Linked DNA regions of Homo sapiens: region 1 is linked to region 2. Evidence: promoter capture Hi-C in 16 types of primary human blood cells and fetal thymus (Javierre and others, 2016). All regions are on one chromosome and are shown on one strand. Each heading gives the region's core, a stretch centred on a gene start or on the middle of the fragment in contact. The rest is flanking DNA. Distances are from core to core; before and after follow the strand shown.

Region 1 (4,835 bases), core at 1,888-4,387, 1.1 Mb before region 2:
ATGGCAAAACTCCATCTCTACTACAAATACAAAAATCAGCCAGGTGTGGTGGCACATGCTTGTAGTCCCGGCTACTCGGGAGGCTGAGGCAGGAGAGTCACTTGAACCTGGGAGACAGAGGCTGCAGTGAGCCAAGATCATGCTACTGCATTCCAAGCTGGTTGACAGAGCAAGACTTCTCTCAAAAAATAAATAAATAAATAAGTAGGCATTTATATCTAAAAATTTCCCTCTAAGCACCTTTAGAAGCATGGTGTATTTTTAATGTGTTATGTTTTTATTTTCATTAATTTAAAATACTTTATAATTTCCCTGTGTTTTCTGTTTTCTTTTTTGTATGTTTTTGACCCATTGTTAAGAAATGTGTTGTTTTTACTTTCACATATTTGTGAATTTTCCTAATTTTCTCTTTTATTGTATTCTTATTTAATTCCATTGAAGTTGGAAAGCATACTTTGTATGACAAATTCTTATAGTATTTTAAGACTTGCTCCATTGTCTAATACATGGTCTATCCTGGAGACTATTCAATGTATACTTGGGAAGATCATGTATTATTCTGTTGTTAGATGGAATGTTATATGGATGTCTGTTAAGTATAGTTGGTTTATAGGGTCGGTTAAGTATAGGTTGGTGTGTGTGTGTGTGATTTTTATTTCTTCCTGTGGATTTGAATTACTGCCTAATGTGCTTGTATTTCAAACTCAAGGAATCCCGTTAGTATTTATTGTAGGGTTTGTCATATGTGAACAAGATCTAAGTTCTTGTTAATCTTAAAAATGTCTTAATTTATCATTTATTTTTGGAGGATAGTTTTGCTAACTATTAAATTCTTTGTTGGCAGTTGTTTCTCATTCAGCGCTTTAAATATTTCATCCTACTTCTTTCTGGCCTCTATTGTTTCAGATTAGAAATAGCTTTCAATTTGATTGGTCATCCTTTCTACACGATGAGTCACTTCTGTCTTGCTGACTTGAAGACCCTCTGTCTTTGAGTCTTACATTTTTGATTATGACAGGTCTCCATGTGTCAATCTCTTTAAATTTATCCTACTAGGAGTTTATTAAGCTTTTTAGTTGTGTAGATTAATGTTTTTCAACCACTTTGAGAAGTTATTGGCCATTATTTCTCAAATATTCACTCTACTCCTTTCTTTACTCTTCTCCTGGATCTTTCATTAAATCCTTTGGTACACTTGATAATGTCCCAGCGGTCCCTTAGGCTGTCTTCATTTTTCTTAATTCCTTTTTTCTTCTGTCCCTCAAACTGTATAATCTTCATTCACCTATCTTTGAGTATGCTGATTCTTTTTTTTTTTTTTGCATGCTCAAGTCTGATCTTTAGTTCCTCTTGTAAAGTTTTTATTTTAGTTCTTGTACTTTGAACTCCAAGATTTCTACTTAAAAAAATTTGTAACTATTTAATGACATTCTCTATTTTGTGAGACATCATTCTCATATTCCTTTTGGTTATTTATATATAGGTTTTTAAAGCTCTTCAAATATATTTAAATTAGCTGATTTTAAAAGTCTTTGACTAGTAAGTACAATATCTGAGCTTCTCTCAAGGATGGTGTCTATTGAGAGCCTTTTTCCTATGTATTTTTATCTTGCTTGTTTCTTTCCAAGTCTTATAACTTTTTGTTGAAAATTAGACATTACACAGGTTATAGTGTGTTATTTATGGAAATCAGATTCTCCAGTAGACTTTCCCAAAGTCTATCTCTCTGTCATTTGTGGCCATTGAATTTTCTACTCAACTTAGTGGTAAGCTTATAATTGGACAATGATTTTTGTTAAACACCTGGAACCAAGAAGTTTCTCAGTCTTTGTCAAAGGATTCTGTGTTTGTGTTGGGGCATGCCTTCAATAGTCAGCTGTAAAGTTGACAACTGTGTTTAGCCTTCATTTTCTGCTTGTATGAAACCTCAAGGTCAGTTAGAGATGAGAGCTTTGGAACTTCTCAGGCCTTTCTGCTTATGCATACAGCTTTACACAGTTCTGGGCATCTTCATTGTCATTTAGATTTCCAGTAATATTCCAGAGTTTTTCAAAGTCCCTTATAAGTAAGAAGACATTTTATTCTTCAGTTTTCCTTTTATGCTTTCATTTGGTCTTCAATTTGCCCTGCTATCTGTTGCCTCAGGCACATGTGACGTTAATATATTTGATAACACTCCCTGGGGATAGGCTTGTAGCACTAGATACATGCAAATGAGGCTGAAAAAGAAAAGCCATTCAAGTAGGGTTATGCAGGGAACCACCAGACAAGTCAAAATAATGACTCTTCTTTGGAAATAAGGCTTTTGAAGAACTGTATTTCTGCTGTACTCCCTCTAGTGCCAAGAATATGGAGTATTATGTTTTGAAAGCTATCGATGAGCTGTGGAGCTGGAGATGAAACTAGTGTAAATTAAAATAACACAAATCTTATATCTCTTACTGCTATCTATTTATTTCTCTCGACTAAATGTTTTCAAGGCTCCTGTTGGTTAGTTTCCAGAGTTCTGAAAAAAAAATAATTCTCACAAGTTTTGCCAGTTTATTCTATTTTTATGGAGGGGCGGCCTATCTCGTGTCCTTCCTCTACCTTTTATTTTATTTTTTTTCTGGTATCTTGTCTTCATTTTTTAAAGATAGTTTTCCTGGGTATAAAATTCTTGGTTGGCAGTTTATTTCAGCACTTTTCAATGACATCTTATTGCCTTCTAACCTCCATTTTTTCTGATAAGAAGTCAGCTGTTTCACATGTAAACCACATTTTTCTCGTGCTGGTTTCAAGATTTTTTGTGATGTAGGGCACAATTTAGTCCACAACAGTCACATTTTGAGGTTCTGGGTAGACACATATTAATATTTGGGGAGACAGTCTCCAATTTATTAACCCCTCTAGTGAATAATTAACATCAGTTAATGTACTTTTCAACTATAAAGCTTCTATTTTGTTCTTCTTAAAATTTGTATTTGTTTATGGATAATGTTTCTTTAGGGAGATATTGTCATCATGCTTTTATTTCTTTAATCAGGATTTCCTTCATTTCTTTCAACATATTTAGAATATTGGCTCTTAATATTTTTTCTGCTAACTCTGACATGGACTCTTGCACAGAAAGTTTCTTTTGCCTGCTTTCCCCACCCTGTGTATAGCTCATGCTTTCCTGTTAATTTTCATGTCTCATGCTTTCCTGTTACTTTGCATGTCTCATATTTTGTGTTGAAAATGGATATTGTAGATAATTATAGCAGCTCTGAAAACCAAGGCTTGTTGTTGTCACTGGTTGTTTAGTTAGTTGGCTAGTGACTTGGCTGAACTGTTTTATAAAATAAATTTCCCCTAAGTTTGAAGCTTTTGATGTTGCTCATTGGAGAGTGCAGCCTTGGACTACAGTGGTTAACAACCATTGGGCTTATAGTGGTTTTAGCAGGGCTCATTTTAATGGTCTCTTTCCCTGATCTCTATGGTAAGCTCTCCGCTTCTGTTAGTATCACACCCAGTTCCTAGACTACACTAGCAGGCTGCCTATTATTGTTTTTTATTATGCCTGAGTTATCTATTGCTCCACAGTATTACGCAATTAAATTTGGGCCCCTTTGTAAGAGTGGTTTCTAAGACCAGTCTTTGCAGTTTGTTCTGTCCCTAAGAGAACGGTTATTAACTGTACTTTTTCTGGTTCACTATGGTAAATTCTGACTTATGGTTTATCTTGTTCTCATGGAGTTACTAGCCTCTAATTAATTGTTTACCACCAAAATCACTGTTGTCAAAAAGCACCCTTGGGCTTGAAATTCTTGATACTCTGTTCCAAGTAAAATCAATTCCTTTGGGCGGAGCTTCAGAGCTCTTTGTTCTTATGGCCTGCCTCTCCTCCTGGGCAAAATCTCTGAGCCATTGCTCCCGAGCTTGCAGGATGGTGGGTGGTGTTGGAAAAGAAGACCTCCTCTGTTGAAGTGACACACCTGTTTTATGAGTAGGACACTAGCACTGGTGGTAGCCTCTGGCTTTCTTTGTTTGCTTCTCCCACTGTGAAACCTCTGCCTTGGGGGTGAGCTGGAGTCAGGGAGATTAATGCTTCATTGTTTTCATCCTGTGATACCTAAACAGAGCCTCACCTATAAATGAGAGCTGTGAAGAGTAAGACAGTCTCTATCCTCTAGGCTACACTCACCTGAAACTTAGTTTCTGCAACACAGAGTGGGAAGGGGATGAGAAATACTGAGGCTGTGTCCCTCACAGGGACATAGCACAGCATTTGACTGGGAGCTGGAGGGAGGGGGAGCCCTGCATTCTTGAGCACACCTGTCCAGAATGAAGCTTTTATCACACCCAACTGGGTTTGGAGGAAAGGAAGCAGTCTGTGGTTCAAGTGCCAAAGATTCTTTCTGCCCTTACTAAGATTTAGTATATTTTATTGAATACAAGTTTTCTTTGTTTTGTTTTGTTTTTTGTTTGTTTGTTGTTTGTTTTTTGTTTTTTTGTTTTTGTTTTTGTTGTTGTTGTTGAGAAGGAGTCTTGCTCTGTTCCACAGGCTGGAGTGGAATGGCTTGATCTTGGCTCATTGCAAGCTCCACCTCCCGGGTTAAAGTGATTCTCCTGCCTCAGCCTCTTGAGTAGCTGGGATTACAGGCGCTTGCCACCACATGCAGCTAATTTTTGTATTTTTAGTACGGATGGGGTTTCACCAGGTTGGCCAGGCTGCTCTTGAACTCCTGACCTCAGGTGAGCTACCCGCCTCAGCCTCCCAAAGTGCTGGGATTACAGGCGTGAGCCACTGCACCCAGCCACAAGTTTTCTTCATTTGCTATATGTTCACAGAACAATTTCTAGAGATTTTCAAT
Region 2 (4,719 bases), core at 530-3,029:
TGAGATGGCACCACTGCACTCTAGCCTGGGTGACAGAGTGAGACTCTGTCTCAAAAAATATATATAATAGGTTAAAAAATAAAACAGTAATGGGAATACTAACACCACCTCCAATTCAGATCATTCCTGTCTTGAAAGAGCTTTCAAATCAGCAGTGTGAGCAGGTGGGAATACCACTGGACTGAGATTCCGATCCTGACTCGATGGCTAAGGACTTGTGGACTCTCTGAGCCTCAGGTATCTCTTTTATCAATACCAGGGGGCCCTCCGAGGTCCCCTTCGGGTTTAAGGTTGTGCAGACCCAGATCGCCACTCTCTGTGTCTAAATGAGCCAGGGGAGGGCCCACCTTCTCACCCTGTTCTCCACAATGGCTTGGCTGTGCTTTCCAAAGAGGAGTGCTAGAGAGGCCTGGATGAATGATTTCAGGCCCATGGTGGGCAAGTACTCATAATTCAGGGAGGGATCCTGTGAAATCTGTAGTCGAGTCTTCTGCACCACGAGAGAAACCCAGGGATGGCCTTCATTTGTCATGCAGACTGTGAGGAAAACCACAGAGGGAGCTCCAGATGCCTGGTTTGGGCCCCCAGGGCTGAGCTCTGCAGACAGCCTGCAAACAAATCTCTCCTGGACTCCATGGGGCTGTGGGAAGGTGCCTGTGAAAATACAACTTTCCCTTTTCTTTTCTCCTTGATGAAAAGAATATGCTGTTAGTGAATGTGTATTATTTTTGTCTTTTTAAAAAAGACAACTGAAACCTATGCCATTTTAAAGGTTAAAAATTATACAAGCCCAGGATTGGTGGCTCAGGCCTGTAATCCCAGCACTTCGGGAGGCTAAGGTGGGTGGATCACTTGAGTTCAGGAGTTCAAGATCAGCCTGGGCAACATGATGAAACCCTGTCTCTACAAAAAAATACAAAACAGCCAGACATGGTGACCAGCGCCTGTAGTCCCAGCTACTCAGGAGGCTGAGGCAAGAGGATGGTTTGAGCCCAGGAGGCAAAGGTGGCAGTGAGCTGAGATCTTGCCACTGCACTTCAGCCTGGGCAACAGAGTGAGGCCCTGTCTCAAGAAAAAAAAAAAAAAAATATATATATATATATATATATATATATATATATATATATATGCAAAATGAGAGTTATAGGTAGATGAAGCTAAATAAAGGTAACCCTGACTTTCACAGTGGTGAGCCCCAGTTGCATAGCAGAAAGCTCAATCTGGAGAACCATTCTTGGTTCAAGAACAGGAAGAGAAAGAGAAAGAGAGAGAGAGGAGGTAAGAATCTGAAGAAGTGTGGGATGGCCATGCAGGCCCCCAAGCATAGAGTTGTGGAAGAGGACATAGCTCTCACCAAATCCCTAGAAGCCCCCAGAGAAGGGCAGAGAGCATGGAATGACCTGGGACCTTATCTGCACTTTTCCCCACTGGGTAATTCTGTTAACAAGAAAAGATCTCTCCACCCACAGAAGCTTGGGCTGCACCCCTCCCCCTGCAGCAGGGAACACTGTCCTCCTAGAGGCAGTTACCATCACTTAAGTCTTATACTTCAGAACTGCTAGGCATCTACCTCTATAGGCTAAGAATATCTTGTTCGGGTAATCATCTTGTTTGTAGGTCTTTAACAAGCTGCCCTCTAGCTTGTGGGCGAGGGGCACATCCATGAACACTGAAAGGGTGGGCATAACTGAAACGAAACTGGAGCCAAGACTATGTGTCTCTGCTCCTGTGTTCCGCTTCTGCCCAGAAGTCTTCCTCCAAGGCTGGGCCGGGCAGTCCTGCCTCTTCCTGGAACCTTGGCAGCCCCAGTGCAGAGGCGCTGGACAACGGGTTGCCAGGGCAACAGAACCTCATGATCTTTGTGGTGGCGATCCACAGGGGCCACAGGAACATTCCAGGGTACTTGAGGAGAATCCCCTCAGACAGCGGGCAGGGCAGGATAACAATCTCCGGAATTCCCAAGCCCGTTTCCCTCACTCAATGCCTTCTCTTCTCTAGCCCCAGGTGGCTCAGTCCAAAGTAACAAGCCCACTCCTTAGATGACAGGGCAAGGATAATGGGAGATTACTTAACAGATACAATGTACATTGTTGGGGTTATGGATACCCTAAAAGCCCTGACTTCACCACTATGCGATGTATGCATCTAACAAAATTACACTTGTACTTCACACATTTATACAAATTAAAAAAAAAAAAAAGAAAGAAAGACATAGGGCAAGGCAGGCAGCCAATAAGCCAGATAGGGCTTCTCCTGCAGAAGCAAAAACCCCAGATCACACACCAATGCAAGTCGAGGCATTGATTTCCATTTTGCAAAGTGCCCCAGATTTCAAAAGGAATAAAAAGCAAACACTGTTTTCTTCCACAGTTGTTTTAATAAAGAATCCTATTATTAGAATATAATTGGCAACTCACTAAGCCAGTCCTATTTCTCTCAGTTATCTAGAGCCAAGACTTCTACATATGTTTGTTAAGTTTCTTTTTCTTTCTTTTTTTGGTTTTTTTTTTTTTTGAGATGGAGTCTCACTTTGTCGATAGTCTCGAACTCCTTGCCTCAGGTGATCTGCCTGCCTTGGCCTCCCAAACTGCTGGGATTACAGGCATGAGCCACCACACCTGGCCATTTGTTAAGTTTCAATGACAGCCAACTAGTAAGTATAGACAGCAGAGGCCAAGGGGAGAAAAGAGCCAGCCTCTATAGAGTCAGTCTGCATATTGCTTGCTTTCTTTTCCTTTTGATGTTTAATGACTCTCTCTTTTTTTTTTTTTTTTTTTTTGAGACAGAGTCTCGCTCTTGCTGCCCACATTGGAGTGCAGTGGTGTGATCTCGGCTCACTGCAACCTCTGCTTCCCAGGTTCAAGAGATTCTCCTGCCTCAGCCTCCCGAGTAGCTGGGATTACAGGCATGCGCCACCACACCCAACTAATTTTGTATTTTTAGTAGAGAGGGGGATTTCTCCATGTTGATCAGGCTGGTCTCAAACTCCAGACCTCAGGTGATCTGCCCACCTGGGCCTCCCAAAGTGCTGGGATTACAGGCGTGAGTCACTGCGCCCGGCTTTTTTTTGTATTTTTAGTAGAGACAGGGTTTCACCACGTTGGCCAGACTGGTCTCAAACTCCTGACCTCAAGTGATCTGCCTACCTCAGCCTCCCAAAGTGTTAGGATTACAGGCATGAGCCACCACACCCAGCCTGATGTTAAATAACTCTTTAAATGATTGTTGCAAACACTGTTGATGTCTCACCCAGAAGGCCTTCACCACCAATGTGCCCGGCCCCAGCTGCTGCTTCGCTGGTGGACAAGGCTTATATGCCTGTGTTCTCTGGAGAATTGTGCTTGGCTGGCAGGAGTCAGCTAGCCTAGAAACCACCTGGAGGTTTCACCCCCACTGACAGGGGTAGCCAATGACTGCCTGATTTAGGCATACAAAGGGTCAGCCACAGCCAGGCATGGTGGCTCACACCTGCAATCCTAGTGCTTTGGGAGACTGAGGCGGGAGGATCACTTGAGCCCAGGAGCTCAAGACCAGCCTGAGCAACATAGGGAGACCCCCCCCACCCACTCCACAAAAAATTTTAAAATTAGCTGGGCGTGGTGGTATTGCAGTGAGCTATGATCATGGCACTGCACTCCAGCCTGGTTGACAGAGTGAGATCCTGTCTTTAAAAAAAAAAAAAGGTCGGGCACGGTGGCTCACACCTGTAATCCCAGCACTTTGGAAGGCCAAGACAGGCAGATCACAAGGACAGGAGATTGAGACCATACTGGCTAATGGGGTGAAACCCCGTCTCTACTAAAAATACAAAAAAAAAATTAGCCTGGCTTGGTGGTGGGCGCATGTAGGGAGGAGGCTGAGACAGGAGAATTGCTTGAACACGGGAGGCAGAGGGCACAGTGAGCCGAGATCTCTCCACTGCACTCTAGCCTGGGTGACAGAGCGAGACTGTCTCAAAAAAAAAAAAAAAGGAAAAGAAAAAGAAAAAAGGCCAGCCCCCTTGTCTCGGTTCACCTCTGTGGCTCAATCTACACTTCAGGGCCCATTCCCCAACCAGGCGAAGCCTAGACTTGACCTGAGGCCACATCCTTGCTTGGTTCCTTCCCCTTCACAATCCTGCTTCCTTCACTCCCTTCCAGGTTCTTCCTGAAGGGCACTCCTTCCCTAAGTCACATGCCCAGGAACTCCTGTCTCAGGCTATGCTCCCAGGGAACCTGTTTTGAGGCAAATGATTATGAAAGTAGTCCGTATTATTGTAGAAAACTCAAAAGCATCAAAAAATTATAATGAAGCACACAAATTCCCTACAACCAATCCATAACTTCAGTCCGGGTGCACCTCCATCCAGTTTCTATTCTTTGACATTTATATTTTAAGGTAATTGCTATCAACATTTATGTGTCATTTTCATCATACTTTCTTCACTTAACATTTCAGCTGTGAGGATTTTATTGTGTGCCAGTGAGAACCTTTTATGCTGCAGGTAATTTAAAAAAGACCTAGTCCAAACCAGCTTGAGCAACAGAGAGAAAGTATTGGCACCTAACTGGGAGGGCCAGGGTACATCTGACTCCAGTCGGAGTTCAGTCCAGAGGGACACAGTTATCATCAGGGCCCCAGCTTCATTCTCTGGCATCCCCTTGGCTCTACTGTCCTGGATGCGTCAGGCTGGTTCTCTGGCTGACGCTGGATGTGAGAACAAAAGTGGATGGGGCCGGG

Evidence for each region. The method cuts DNA at HindIII sites, captures the fragments that hold promoters and counts their contacts. A CHiCAGO score of 5 or more calls a contact.
Region 1: a contact is called between a fragment that was not itself captured here and the fragment with the promoter of GOT1L1 in region 2, in 1 of 17 cell types (M0 macrophages). The highest score is 5.2, in M0 macrophages.

The regions. Positions count from the first base shown.
Region 1 is chr8:36,853,166-36,858,000 of GRCh38, forward strand. All of the region lies in intron 18 of KCNU1 (potassium calcium-activated channel subfamily U member 1), which reads left to right. Among named protein-coding and RNA genes, the nearest start is that of KCNU1, 71 kb to the left of the region's middle. The HindIII fragment of the contact is 412 bases long and covers 2,932-3,343 here.
Region 2 is chr8:37,938,345-37,943,063 of GRCh38, forward strand. It overlaps GOT1L1 (glutamic-oxaloacetic transaminase 1 like 1), which reads right to left and starts at 1,780. Exons shown (of 9, transcript NM_152413.3): 1 at 1,571-1,780; 2 at 356-537. The coding sequence starts at 1,685. RefSeq lists an enhancer at 1,286-1,802. The HindIII fragment of the contact is 5,963 bases long and covers 1,471-4,719 here.